Regions from separate parts of the Homo sapiens genome. Here all the other regions are linked to region 1. Evidence: promoter capture Hi-C in 16 types of primary human blood cells and fetal thymus (Javierre and others, 2016). All regions are on one chromosome and are shown on one strand. The core of a region is centred on a gene start or on the middle of the fragment in contact, and the rest is flanking DNA. Distances in the headings are between cores, read along the strand shown. Region 1 holds the start of LINC01948 (long intergenic non-protein coding RNA 1948). Region 2 overlaps C5orf67 (chromosome 5 putative open reading frame 67). Region 3 has its middle 94 kb from the start of LINC01948. Region 4 overlaps C5orf67 (chromosome 5 putative open reading frame 67). Region 5 overlaps C5orf67 (chromosome 5 putative open reading frame 67).

Region 1 (2,766 bases), core at 109-2,608:
GGATCTAGAGACCTACGGACTTGCCCTCCTGATACTTGCAGCTGGTGTTTAAGGACGTGCCTGCCTTGGGCGATGGGCGGGTAGAAACCTCACACACCAAAGCCCATCGAGCTAAACTCAAGGTTGCGAACCCCAACCCCGGTGGGAACACGGTCTGCAGACACGCTCCCTTAAGTCCCTGTCGCACACAATAAATTGCTTTCTGAATATTCCCTTTACAACTGCAAAAAATAGAAATGGCTGTAACTGTGCAGAGAAAGAAAAGAGAAGCTGGGATGAGCTCCATCAGGGGCCGAATCTGCTTCTCGCTGGTGGATACTGTGATAAGAAACCTAGATCTGAACGGCCTCACAATGGCCTATTTATCCGGCTCTTACGCACGGCCGGCAGCCCCGGCTGGGAATCACGGGGGTGGCAGCCGTCCCCGGAAAACGGCGGCATTCCGACACAGGAAAGCCCGCGGATCAACTGATCTGCAGACAACGCTTCTTCCTTCCTGGGAAGCGGCCACAAAGGCAGCCAGCTGACCCCGGCCCAGCGCGGCTCCCGGCCGAGGAGGACAGGGGCGGGGTGGGGAGGGGGGGAATCGTCGCCCGCCCCGCCCCCACCCCCCAAGTTTCCTTTGGCAAAAGCATCCCAGGCGTGGTTCAGGCAGAGTCCACGCCAGCGAGGCTGGGGCCGAAACTCTCCACGCCAGGAAGGCGGGGTAGGCGGACCCGCCGCCCCCAGCCCCGCGCGCCCGCCGCGCCCCCCACGGCCCCCACCAGCTGGCTCTTCCGGCCGGGGCGGCCTTGGCCTGGGGCTGGGGTTGACTTTGGTGGGGGGACAGGAAGGACTGGCACAGCGCCCGCGACTGTCCCCTGAGGAGGACCCTCCCTACGACTTTTGGTCAAAAGCAAAAAGAAACACAGACATGTGCGTCACCCCGGGAAGCGCGCGGGGGTTTCGCTCGCGTTTCAGGAGCCGACTTCGCATCCTCCCTCGGTAGGGGGGTCGGGGGTTCCTAAAATTTACCCCCCAACTTCACTTCTCTGGCGACAGAGCACCTTAACAGTTCATTTCCCTCTCGCTCTCAAGTGAAAACATCTTATTTTTGTGTTAAAATGTATAAAGACACCATGAGAATTGGCAGGAGGTCAAACCGTAGATTCTGAGATGCTCCGGTCGCTCCCCAGGAAGCGCTGTTTTCGGAAGTGTTGACCCAGCAGCTGGTCCCTGCTGCTCTAATGACACGATGTGTGCTTTCACTTTTTCACTCCCAAAACGACGTGGTTTGGAGTCTTGAGAGCCTTGGAAATCGCTGCCCGTGGAGGGAAAGGTCTGGAGAGGCCAGGCCAGGAGAGCAGACATGCTGCAAGAAGCGGAGGCAGCCCTGTGAACTCGCCTGGCTCCGCAGGGAGGGGCGAGGCTGTCCAGGTCGCAGGTGGAGCTGGCCAGCTGCGAGCCAGGATGTCCTTGCTCTTTCCAAATTATACACAGTTTCCACAAGGAAAAAAGAGAGGGGTAGGGGGTCCAGGCAGATCTTCAGCTGTTTGTATACTCTGCACCAGGAGGCGCTATCATCAGCCCGGACCCCTACTCCACAGGACTGAGGAGACCACAATTCTTCCCTCCAGGCAGAATCGTGGACCCAATATTCCCGTCTCCCCGAATTCTCTTAACTCAGTATACTGCCATTAACAGCATAGTCAGCCTTCTGGACTTGAACTCCAGAAGGAATTTTGTCTCATTTAGTGCCTGCAGGGGAGCAGGATGAGATAGTACCTCTTGTACCGGCACAAGGTCTCTGAGTTGACTCTTACATAAACATTGCGCTGTTTCTAGGGACGGCATCATTTCTTGACCTAGAGAAACAAAGATATTGTGGGAAGGACCCCTGATGCTCAGTGGCAGTTTGGAGACCTGGCATTAGCCTTACTCAGTAAGGCTTCCTGATCTAGCAGGACTGATCCAGTCAGCTTTGATGATCCCCTAGCCTGGTACTGGGATTCTTCCAAACACCCATGAGATCACCCACATCTCACAGGGGCTGGTAGTGTTCCAGCAGAGAAAGGTGAGGGTAGCAAGCAGTAGTCACTTTGGGCCTGAAATGAACATCTTGGGGTTTTTATATCTGCCCACCCACTATGGGACATTATTGTCCCTTCCTCTTTGCTACAGTGTTTCCAGAAAATGAGAAGTAGCATCTTCTTAGAAATAGATTGGGTACCCTGTCTTAGACCTAGTTCCTTTTTTTTTGTTTTTTTGAGACGCTGTCTCACTCTGTCTCCCAGGCTGGAGTACAGTGGTGCGATCTGGGCTCACTGCAACCTCCGCCTTGGGGGTTCAAGTAATTCTCCTGCCTCAGCCTCCTGAGTAGCTGGGAATCCAGGTGTGTGCCACCACACTCGGCTAATTTTTGTATTTTTAATAGAGACAGGGTTTCACCATATTGGCCAGGCTACCCTTGAACTCCTGACCTCAAGTGATTCGCCTGCCCCAGCCTCCCAAAGAGCTGGGCAGTTACTTTTATTATAGTTCTAGATAACATAGAAAAGAACATGGAAAGCAGCTATGCAAGCAAAACACAAACACAAACAACCCTGTTAAAAAGTGGGCAAAAGACATGAACAGACACTTCTCAAAAGAAGACATGCAAGCAGCCAACAAATGTGAAAAGATGCTCAGCATTGCTGATTATCAGAGAAATGCAAATCAAAACCACGATGAGATCTCACACCACTCAGAATGACTATTATTAAAAAGTCAAAAAAACAACAGATGCTG
Region 2 (2,766 bases), core at 93-2,592, 120 kb after region 1:
TCAGAGTGATTATCACCAAATAATTGTTCCCTTTCTTCCCTGCTGACAGGGCAGAATGGGAACAGAGACTCATCTGAAATAGATTTTGTACTTGCTGAATGCAAGTTGGATAGCTCAGGTCAATGAGCATCCACTGAAGTATTTCAGCATCGTGCCTGTTGACCTCAGAGAAAAATTAAAATTCATCTGATACAAAAGGGAAAACCATCAAATGTCACCTGCTTGAGGTTATGCAGCTTTCTTGGAGTTGAGCAACTGTGGTTTCAGACTAGAATAAACATTTATTTTAGCCTGAAATAAATTGTCCTTTGCTGAGGATGATTCTAGAGGATAGAAACAAGAGGAGTATTTTCTGGAGCCTGAACTCTGAGACAAGTAACTGGCTTATTTCCATAGTGGTAGATATGAAAAGACTGCTCATAACCCCTCTCCTCCTGCCTGCCTTTATGACATTCACAGGGAGGTTATTAAAATCGTCCACTAGGCCTGTCTCTGGAGCAGTCACAGAATCCAAATTTTCCGATGAACTCCTCAAAGTTGTCATGATACTGAAGATAAATAGGCTATAATGTGAGTGAAGCATGCTGCAAATTCAGTAGTGTCACCTTTCAGCCTATCTACCCAACGAAGCTCTAGACTGCTGGGAAATGAAATGTTCCACACTAACAAATATTTATGTGCAATTCTATACAGGGTGGTGAGCAAGAATAAAGTAGAGTAGGTCATCATCATAATCTTTAATGTCTGGTAATATGAAGGGAGAAAGGTGGCCATCTCTTTTTTCTCTCTCATTGACAGAGATTTGATGTGATTTCAACCAACAAACCTGTATTATAGCCTGATGTATACCAGACATTATGCTAGAAGTTATGGGAACAGGGAGGATCCTGAGGTAACAAAGACAAGGTCTCTGCCCTCAGATGAGTTCACAGTGTGGCTCTTCCCTTTTTTCTAAAAGAGCCAGAATGATAATGAGACTTCTGAATCAGAAGAGTCATGGGATCGAAGTTTGAGATTTGGCTTCTCCACTTGCTAGCTTTTGACTTTGGGCAGGTCACTAGCCTCTCCATGCCTCAGTTTCTCTCTCTACAAACTGAGGATAAGGGTACTCCAGTAACCTACCTCAAAAGATTGTTGTAAAGACCAAATGAAATTGAACATGCAAAATCTCTTTCTAAATGGCAGAGCATCGTGCGAATATGATCTTATAATTATGAGTCACAGCAAAAGAGCGATTAGATTCCTAACAATGATACCTTCTACATAAACAATAACCTTGCCCAGCAACTGCCATCTTCTAAATCCCCTAAAAATCAGCACATGAGAAAGGCAGACTGGCTTTCCTTCAAAGGTAGGGGTGTGTTATAAAAAACATTTGTGTGACCCTAGCACCAAGAGCATAGCAAGTACTCAATAAATGCTGAAAAATTGGAGTTAGTCTGAGACTCCACAGTCAGATTAGAGAAAACAGAACCAAAGGGGCTACTCTGAAAGCAGGGGGTCAAACCATACATCTTAGTGGTCACAAATTAGTCCATTTGTTTTCGTATGTAATGTCAATATGTCAGTAGTAACGGTAAATGTTGCAATGATTTACCATAGACCACAATCATAAGGGATTCCTCTACCCCTTCTCCCTGCCCACTATCACCACAAGATTTTTCGCTAGTAGCTTTTATTGTTGATCAAGTTTCACTTTGACTGCAAAAGTCACAGTAGGTATCCTGTAGAAAGTGTTTGAAGAGATTGGGCGCGGTGGCTCACGCCTGTAATCCCAGCACTTTGGGAGGCCGAGGTGGGAGGATCACCTGAGGTCAGAAATTCGAGACCAGCCTGCCCAACATAGTGAAACCCCGTCTCTACTAAAAATACAAAAATTAGCCTGGTGTAGTGTCACGTGCCTTTAATCCCAGCACCCGGGAGGCTGAGGCAGGAAAATCACTGGAAACCGGGAGGTGGAGGCTGCAGTAAGCCAAGATCGTGCCACTGCATTTCAGCCTGGGTGTCACAAAAAAAAAAAAAAAGTGTCTGATTGAATAACTGGAAGACAATTTCAAAGGTATAAAGTTTGCATAAAAGAACTCAATGTCAGATTCTAGACCATGCAGGGCCCAGCACAAAGGCTCCAGACGCACATCAACTGTGGAGCATTGTTTTTTGAAGGAGGCAATGATGAGTGTAGTTCTAGTTAACATGCTCCCAATTTTTGACCTTTAGGCAAATAGTTTAAATTCATTCATCTACATTTTCCAAATCTATAAAACATATGTGCCACCTTTCTCGCACACACTTACACACAACAACAACAGCAACAACAAAAATAAACATCTCTAGAAGCCATGAGGGTTTGTTTTTTTTTTAAGATCTTATTTGTTCATTTAGGCCAATACCAAAATTAGCGGGGGGAAGGGTGGGGAGCTGAGCTGGAGAAATGGTACAAGAGCCAAGCTAAGGGCAGTTGGAAGCTGGCCCATGAATAAAATTCCCTGCGTGCAGCTGTAAAACATACACCTGTCCTTCAGGGACTGAGTTCAGGATAACCAAACATTCCTTATAATAAGTCTGCACACTCTGCTGTGCCAACAGAGAAGACCAATTATATGTGTGAGACGATCTGCCATGAACTACTTGGTCTCTGCTGGCCATTTTAGTACTAAAATTTATGACAGCACTAAGCAAAACTCCCAAAGTGCAGAAAGCTGGGGGCTGGGGCAGATCAAGTCAAACATGTCGCCTACACAGGCCCCTCAGTCTCCTTCCTCAAGC
Region 3 (2,766 bases), core at 148-2,647, 94 kb before region 1:
GTATACAATTAAATTTCAAAATAAATGCCTTAGAATTGTGTGTGTTTGTTTTTTGCTAATTTGATGGTAAACATGAAAGCCCAAAGTGTCCTGGGAAAAGCTTTGTATTTTTCTTTAAGCCACAAATAGTCTAATTAGACTTGAAAGAATGCACTTCCAAAGCAAAATAAGACAAAATAGAACGTTCAAAGAGCCACATACCATAGTTTCAGAGATAACTAGAAATTGGGTCTATAAAGATAGCAATGCATTGCTATTGAGTTTGTCTCGCCCACTGTCTTCCACACTCCAGGCGGGAGGGCTACAGCAGCGTCTTATCGTCCTTGAATTTGTTGAATGAATGGCAGTGTCCAAAAGTGCGGAAAACCCCAGGCACAGAATGATACTAAGGGGATCTAAAGAGTTTCTTGGATGAAAATACTGGTGCTACTTGGGAAGATTTGAGAATATGATGGCTCTGAAAATGTACAATTGCTCTGCAATCTTACAGAATTTTTAGAGTCAACTTCTATAAAGAGGGGACAAAACTATTTATAATAAGCACAGTTGAAAAAATACTGTGAAGCAGGAAAGATGGCCTTAGATGTTGTCACCTCCTATTTCTGGGAATTCCTCACCATTCACGGTCCTCAAGATCACTCTACCCCCTTCCATGTCAAAGCCTGGTTTTAGGAAGGGATCTGGTAAATTCATCCTCCTGAGTTTCAGTAACTGCAACAGTTTACTGCAGTAATACATTAAGTCATATTTCAATTGACAGAAAAGGCTTAATATACTGTATTAGTTATTCTGTTTACTTTTAAATAAACATCAACACGTTAACCCAAGGTGGCATATTTCTAATTACAGAATTAAAAACATCAGAGCATGAGCGAAAGCAATTTTGTAAAGGAAACACTTTCAAAAAAATTGGACTGTGTACTTCACCTATTTCACTTGTTTCTGAGGCTTGGTAATTGATTATCCAGTAATGTTTTGGCCTTCTTACATATTAAGAATAGTTAGTACAAACAAAGCAAGGGGATGCCTATTATTAAAATAAGCAATCTCTAATGAACCCATGAATTCCACTGCAACTCTCTCAGCAGCTTGCTCAGGACCCAGGCTAAATCAGGTACTCAAATACCAATCCCTGTTTTCAAAGAGGGAAGATTAAATTGCTTTTGGCTTTGTTCATGAAAACAGCCATTTTGCATTCATGGCACTGAATAGATTCTTTATGATAATTAATGTAAGTTTTATATTTTTACAACAGTCCTTGGGCTGTGTTCTCATGAATATTTCCATTAAATAATTACCTCTTAGAAACGAAAGAGATCTTTTGTATTTTTTAGAACTGTGTTTATGGATACATTCTCCATGCCTCCCCTTTCCCATTCCTCTCGAAATTGCTTGTATCTAAGGAACTTAATACCCTGTCATTATATGTTTAATTCATTTTAGGATATGTGTCCAGAAATATTTGTGCTATTGAGAGAATCACACTGGCCCTCTGAATACTGAGAGCTGGTCCCATTTCTGCAGATTTTCTTCTGTGTCTTGCACGTGTTGTAGACCTATAAACCTCCTGGCATACATAAGCCCACTCTTCTCATTTTGTTTGAGATGCAAAATTCCTAACAGGAAAGTAACCATTTCAGTAACCAATCTTAGAGGCTTGTTTGTCTTTTCTTTATAAATTCTTAACCTTTTCATGACTTAGCAGAAAGTATGCAGGGCTCAGGTTAGGTCAACAACAGAGTCAAGGTTAACTACAAGAAAGTGACATGAGAAAAAATCCAACTAATCCAAACATGGAAACATCAATAGGTGACTTAGACCAACTATAACATTAGCCATCACCTCAGGTCCACTAGCACTTAATATATTTTGTTAATAGGCTCTAAGACTCTTAGAATCTGCTTTTCCTCTTTTCTTCAGAGTATGGATTTCATTGCTCTTAAAACATTGCATCTTCTGCTGGGAATAATTCTGTTCTTGGCCTCTGGAACAGCTCATAAATTATATCTCTGGAATTTTAGACTACAGCAGTTAGTGAAATGGTTTCCTATTCCCCTGGGAAGCCCAGGTAGGAATAGCTACTTACAAAAGTGATTAAGTGTGGAATTTTTGCTTTAGGCACAGAACAGGAGTCACCTCAAGAGCTTTTTTAGTTACATCTGCAATTTTGTTTATTTTGGCTCTATCAATTTCTACATCTGAACAAAATATAACTCTAAGCTATGTCACCAGGAAGAGAGAGATGGAGTCTCCTCCTGTGTCTGAATGAAGAGTACCTTCACATGTGGGATAAAGTCTTGTCCAAACACACTTGGTGTCACTTCCATGCATAACTTCCTGCTCAGGGTTTGTCAGGTTAATTTAACCTCAGAGGATTCTAATGCTTCCAAATGAGGGGAAAAAAAAAAAAAAAAAAAAAAAAAATATATATATATATATATATATATATATATATATATATATATATATATATAATGAAATTATGTTAAGACCTGTTGGGCTCAACAAACAGAAAGATAAGTAGTTTTCTTTACTGAAGAGCCATTCACGTATATGCTAATGTCCATTGTGAATCTTCAAGAGTGGAGGAGCACTTTCCAAAAATATTTGACCTTGGAAGACTTTTCTTTATTCAGAATATCTCTAAAAATCTCATGTTCTACAAGGAACTAAACCACAGTCAAATTTCAGTTGAAAGCTTACCTCAGTCATTCACTCACTCCAGCACAAATCAGAGCCATGACTTTGCTAACTTGGTTGAATTCC
Region 4 (2,766 bases), core at 171-2,670, 80 kb after region 1:
ATCTCTTGATTCTTGCAACGCTCATCTTTTCTACCTATGCTGTGTTCCCATCCTCTGTCTACTGTCTAGAATTGATGCACAGCACCATCTTCCTGGGTGCCACATTGGTTCAGCCTGTCAATTAGGCTGGTTCTTCCATAGCCATGCTGCTTAAGTAATGCCTGTCTTGCATCTCCTGGTAGCTTAAGATCTTATTAGGTCAGTGCCATCTTCTGCACCCAACAGATTTCTTCCTGACCAAGTAAATGAAACTCAGAGTAAAAGATTATGAACTTATAAAAGAACAGCTGGGGCTCTCTTCTTTAGTGCAATCAGGATCGGGTAATTGGTCCGTTAATTAAAACTCAGTGGGAGCTGAAGTACTGAACCCACCAGAGAGCAGTCTTCTTGCCACAAGCAAGAAGGTGAGAGATGGAAGGTGAGAGATAGTACCCTGTGCATGGGGTACTACCAGTTAAGCTGGTGAGTTGGTAAAGTGGAAATCAGTTAATAAAGCGTCTATTCTAATCCTCAGTTTTTTTTATAACACTTAGCAAAATTTACCGTCTAGCCTAAAACAGAAAAGAAAAAAAGTAAGATTTATGTTAAGCAGTAAACTTAACCTTGTGACATTCCCTAGTTCAGGGAAGTGGCCTCTTCAGAAGCTATATTCCACTCGTTCGTGACCCAGAACACCTTATAAAAATTATCAGTGCCCTTGGCTGAGGCTTTTTGTGAAATGCAGAAGATGTTAAGCACAAAAACTCAAATTCAAATCCCAAAGCAGATGGAACATGAATAATAGAAATCATAGTCTACTAATAATTCAAGAATAGCATCTTATGATTGGACCAATTCAGAGTGATAATTGCAACTTGGTACATTATTCGTTCATCTATTTGAAATCTTGGAAGGGACTCTACACAGCACAGTAAGGAGGCTTTGAGAGCCTAAAGCCGTTTCTGTTGTTGTTTGAATGGTGCCAGCCACAGCATGTTTAAACACCACTGCTGCTAGCTGGGTGCCAATGTGGTTTCACCAGCAAGTGTGGGCAAGGATTTTTTTTTTTTAAACTGAAAAGGATTGCTTCCAAAGCATGAAATCAACTGTTAAATCTATCTACTTTTTAAAAACATCCTCTATTTATACTTAGTGAATCTGTGCAAAAATCTTGTCACAAACACACTTAACTCCATGGCCTTAGTGAGAAACCTCTGCTGGCGGGGCTCCGACCTATAATCAAAGCATTAAGTGATCTCTCCACTCCCCTTCCTCCATTCATCGACAGCCCTAGCCAGTCAACAAATGGATTCTCAGGAGCATACCCAGATGAATCCAGGGCCCTGACAGGAGACCTATGTAAAGGTAGACCACTTAGGGATAATCACCAACCGTTTGAAGGGCATTTGTTATTAAAGGATTTTGCTTTTTGGGTTTTGTTTTTTAGCAAAAAGAAAGAAAGAGAAGAAAGAGAGTAGGTTTAGAGATGCAGACTGCCAAATTCATAAGTATTTGTATGATTATAAATACTAAAATGTACACATAAATTGTCCACATGGATCTGCTACTTTCTTCTTGGCCCATAACTGGATTATTTATTTCTCGAGTAAGGACATTGCATTCCCATTCGTTGCTCACATGCTTTAGCTTTCATCAAACTTTGTGTAATGCCCTACACACTATAGCATAGTGAATAAGAGCAAGGGCCCTGGAGAAGACTGACTGAGTTCAAATCCCAACCCCCCATCTCCTTGAGCACACCCCATAACATTTCTGTGCCTCACATTCATCAGTTGAATGTATTAGGTTGGTGCCAAAGTGATTGCAGTTTTTACCACTGAAAGTGGCAATCACTTTGGCACCAACCTAATAAATCACTTAGAGGAGATGACTGGTGCATAGTAAATGCTTAATAAACATTAGCAATTACTGTTAACTAACTGCAACTTGGCTAACTTGGCTACCCTATGTGTGTGAGTGACAAAATGGCCTGCTGATTTTGAGAAAAAAGGACCCTAGAATGGAAATGGAAATGAAGTTTCCAGTTAGTAAAATGGTATTAGAGTATAGATAATATGGAGCCATCAAAATTATTTCTCCAAGATAATATATAATGTAGATGTGGCATACTAATGACGACAGGAGAGAGCCTGTGGATCCATAGGTGTCTTTGTCACCAAGTGGAAAATATCTTGAAGTAGAAATCAAAACACCTAAACTGTAGTCTAGTTCTTTCCTTAACTAGCTATGTGATTTTGGTATAATCGTTTCACCTCTCTGGACTTCTGGACCTCAATGTTTTCATACACAGAGTGAGCAGGTTGATCTAGCAGTGCTATCCAATAGGATTTTCTGTTGTGATGAAAATGTTCTGTCTCTGTACTGTTGGGTGTGGCAGCCACTAGCCACATGGGGATATATTGAGCACTTAAAGTGTGATGAATACAACTGAGGAACTGCATTTTTAATTTTATTTTTATTTTTAACTAATTTAGAGTAAGATTACATAGGCACATATAACAAGTGGCTACTATATTGGGACAGCACAGACAGTATTTTCTAAGATCTTTTCTGATTCTAGCATTCTGTGCTTGACAGAACCTCTCTAGGAAAACCAGTATTGTTACAATGGATCTTAAGACCTTGTCTGATCTTTATGGTCTGTGTACTTTGGAAGAGAACTAAAAGCAAATTTGTAGAGACCCTTAAGAAGAACATGGATCTTGAGAAACTAGGAGTGTGTTTCCTGGAGGCTGATGAGTACTCTAATGACCGTCAATGGTATTT
Region 5 (2,766 bases), core at 129-2,628, 64 kb after region 1:
CTTGTTCAAGAAGAGTAAGCTTTCCCCTCCCAGAAGCCATTTCGGGGAGGAGAAGGTAGAAAGGATTTTCTTTGAGAACACAGATATAGCCCTGATATTGAAATACTTAACTGAATACTTACCCCAAAGAGGCAGTTATAAACTGGAAGAGACTGGGTTATCTGTGAAACTGTGAGGTAGATAGGAATTTTAGATCTGTTTCAGAGAATAAAGTTAAAATTTGGGGGGCAAACATCTGATTTGTAACTGTTCATAAAGCTACCTATCAAAATGTTATGGATTTCAGGTTTTTTTTTTTTTTGTCTTGACATTAGTTTCTCCTGGTCCAGCTAAAACAAGCAGGGCGTGGGAGGCAGATGCAAAGGTCGGCATTGGCCTCAGAGGGTTGACCAGCTCCAGGTTTCAACACGAGGTGCCCCTTGTCCTATTTCAGAATGCTTCCCCTTCAGCCTAAAAGGTTTCAACAGTTAGTGCTTCCCCTTCAGCCTAAAAGGTTTCGACAGTTAGTGCCATTTGGTCCAGTCACATAATCACAGCTGGTAATTGGAGAAGGTGAACATGTGCTTCCAACATTCACTTTTCGTAGACTCATTAGGTCAAAGATCATCTGAGCAAACCCTCTCATTTTACAGATGAGGAAACCAAGGTCAAAGAAGCTAAACTAAGTTACTCGCGAGCTGTAGCTGGAAAAAAGCTGGAACCAGAATCCTAATTGCTCCAAGTCCAAATTCACAGCTCTTTCTAGCACATCAAGCTGCTCATAAACCAGAAATGATCCGTTCCACACACTGTAATCATAAACCAAAACCCAAAGATTCCAAGTAGTCTCTTTCTTGAAAGAAACCATTGGTGTTTGCTTTACTTCTTCTTCCTACATGTGTTTTGAGAGATGTTGTGAATCTCCTGATGAAAAGCTGTTCTGAGAGAAGCTGAGACAAAGCCTCAGTGATCTATGGCTGCCAAAGTCAGCCCCTCTGCAGCTGTACCAGGACAGAGGAGGCGGGGAGGCAGCCAAGCTGTCTTCAGTGCTGTATTCAGAGGTGCGAGCGCCTGGAATTCTGCAATCCAAAAGGGCCTTCTGGGGGTCAGCTGCCTTCTTAGTGTCTTTGAGGGATCACCCTTTGAAGAATCATCCTTCGACTGAAGGAGGACTTTGCACATGTCATGCAGTGTGAGTTTCAAAGACTGCCAGAATCCAAAGTCTCGATCAATCCATCAGGATGGGGACAACTTTTAGACAGGATCTGGTGATAATGTGGTGCATATCTTCTTTCTTCCATGACCTCAGAAATTTTGTTTTTAATTTGTGCTGGGAAGAAAAATGGAAATCAGAGCAATCACCTGGATAATTTTCTCCAAAAACACACATTTGCTTTAGTTTCCTGGAATGACTATTCATGAATGCGTTCAGATGCAAGTGTTATTTATCTGTTAGCCCCATAAATCTCATGGGGAGCTGTGCTTGGCTAAGGGTATCGGGTTGGAAGCCTAATTGCAACTCTTATCCAAAGTGACCAGAACCTTCCCAGTTACCCAGAATAAAGGACCCCCAGTTCCTTCTTTGTGTGTGTGTGTGTGTGTGTGTGTGTGTGTGTGTGTGTGTGTGAGAGAGAGAGAGAGAGAGAGAGAGAGTGCCATGTCCTTAAGTTGCATTTTCAGTATTGATTTTATTGTGGTCTGCTAATGTTTATATGGCTTAAAAAATGTTCTCTCCATGGATAAGGTCTCCACCTCTCAGGCCACAATAATACCTCGCAGAATGGACAAGCATGGATAATTTTCTAGTTTAACTCCAGGGCCATGTGCATGCCTCCTATAGGCCCTAACATGAGGGGGGCAAATAAATTCAATAAAGTTTCATCAAGTCTTACTTGTTTTCTGCTATGAACGATTTAATATTATAATTATTTTTAGCATAGAGGAAATGTGTATCTACCTTGGGGATAAATGATGATTCTGAAGACATCTTTGCTGTCAATTAACATGTTTCAGCTTCCCTAGAACTTGAGGAGAGAGGTTGGACAATATTATATTTGGCTAATGGCAAAGTCTGCAGACACTTCAACAAGAAAGTGAATGGTAATATCGCCTTGCTGATGCTTGCCATTTTCATTTCTCATTCTCATATTGGTCTGAATAAAACTGTGAAAACTTTCCCTCCTTTTTCTAAATAGTCCTCTTTTATTTCTCTAGAAACAAGAAAAAATAAAACACCACATACACGTATCTCACCCCTCTTCCCTTTGCCTCTCCTACTGCCTGGGCCTTCACTAGACCCATTAGTGCTGGTGGCCAAGTTGTCCTCACTCTCATATGATTTCAAACCCTTACGTTTGAGAAGGTTGATCACAGCGGGAGGTCACAGGAAGGCAAGCAGTCTGCATTGGTTCTAGAGGGCAAAATTCCTAGATAATAGTTCCTTCCTCTGCTCACCTGGGTTTTCCTTCCTTACACTGTGGAAACCAAGGTGCTGGTGAGCCTTGTGAAGCAGCTATTAGGTCTCAGCCATTAGCAGATGGGCCTCTTGGCATATTCACGCCTGGGTGAGCTGAGTCCTTGGGACAGATAGTACCACGATGGAGAGAAGAGAGAAGACACACCACCTGAGGATATTAGGACCAAAGCCCCCATGGGGAAGGCTTGCACACCACCATCTGCACCAGAAGCAAGTAAGCAGGTGCATTTTATAGAAAGAGTAACATTTGTTTTCGTGGAGGAAGTTATTATTTGTATGCTTAAAGCTTTTTAAAAATATCTGCTTTGAAT

What was found. Contacts are between HindIII fragments. The CHiCAGO score rates a contact against its expected background, and 5 or more counts as called.
Region 2: a fragment that was not itself captured here is called in contact with the fragment with the promoter of LINC01948 in region 1 in 2 of 17 cell types (total B cells and naive B cells); the score reaches 8.6 in total B cells.
Region 3: a fragment that was not itself captured here is called in contact with the fragment with the promoter of LINC01948 in region 1 in 1 of 17 cell types (neutrophils); the score reaches 5.5 in neutrophils.
Region 4: a fragment that was not itself captured here is called in contact with the fragment with the promoter of LINC01948 in region 1 in 2 of 17 cell types (naive B cells and total B cells); the score reaches 8.7 in naive B cells.
Region 5: a fragment that was not itself captured here is called in contact with the fragment with the promoter of LINC01948 in region 1 in 1 of 17 cell types (total B cells); the score reaches 6.2 in total B cells.

What each region holds. Positions count from the first base shown.
Region 1 is chr5:56,480,411-56,483,176 of GRCh38, forward strand. It overlaps LINC01948 (long intergenic non-protein coding RNA 1948), which reads right to left and starts at 1,359. Exons shown (of 5, transcript NR_104664.1): 1 at 1,143-1,359. RefSeq lists an enhancer at 1,128-1,287. The HindIII fragment of the contact is 6,332 bases long and covers 1-2,766 here.
Region 2 is chr5:56,601,759-56,604,524 of GRCh38, forward strand. The region is part of intron 1 of C5orf67 (chromosome 5 putative open reading frame 67); the gene reads right to left. Among named protein-coding and RNA genes, the nearest start is that of C5orf67, 3.1 kb to the right of the region's middle. RefSeq lists an enhancer at 1-1,484. The HindIII fragment of the contact is 2,851 bases long and covers 1-2,766 here.
Region 3 is chr5:56,386,701-56,389,466 of GRCh38, forward strand. No RefSeq gene overlaps it. Among named protein-coding and RNA genes, the nearest start is that of LINC01948, 94 kb to the right of the region's middle. The HindIII fragment of the contact is 2,598 bases long and covers 99-2,696 here.
Region 4 is chr5:56,560,685-56,563,450 of GRCh38, forward strand. The region is part of intron 1 of C5orf67 (chromosome 5 putative open reading frame 67); the gene reads right to left. Among named protein-coding and RNA genes, the nearest start is that of C5orf67, 44 kb to the right of the region's middle. The HindIII fragment of the contact is 4,794 bases long and covers 1-2,766 here.
Region 5 is chr5:56,544,719-56,547,484 of GRCh38, forward strand. The region is part of intron 2 of C5orf67 (chromosome 5 putative open reading frame 67); the gene reads right to left. Among named protein-coding and RNA genes, the nearest start is that of C5orf67, 60 kb to the right of the region's middle. RefSeq lists a silencer at 370-570. The HindIII fragment of the contact is 2,722 bases long and covers 18-2,739 here.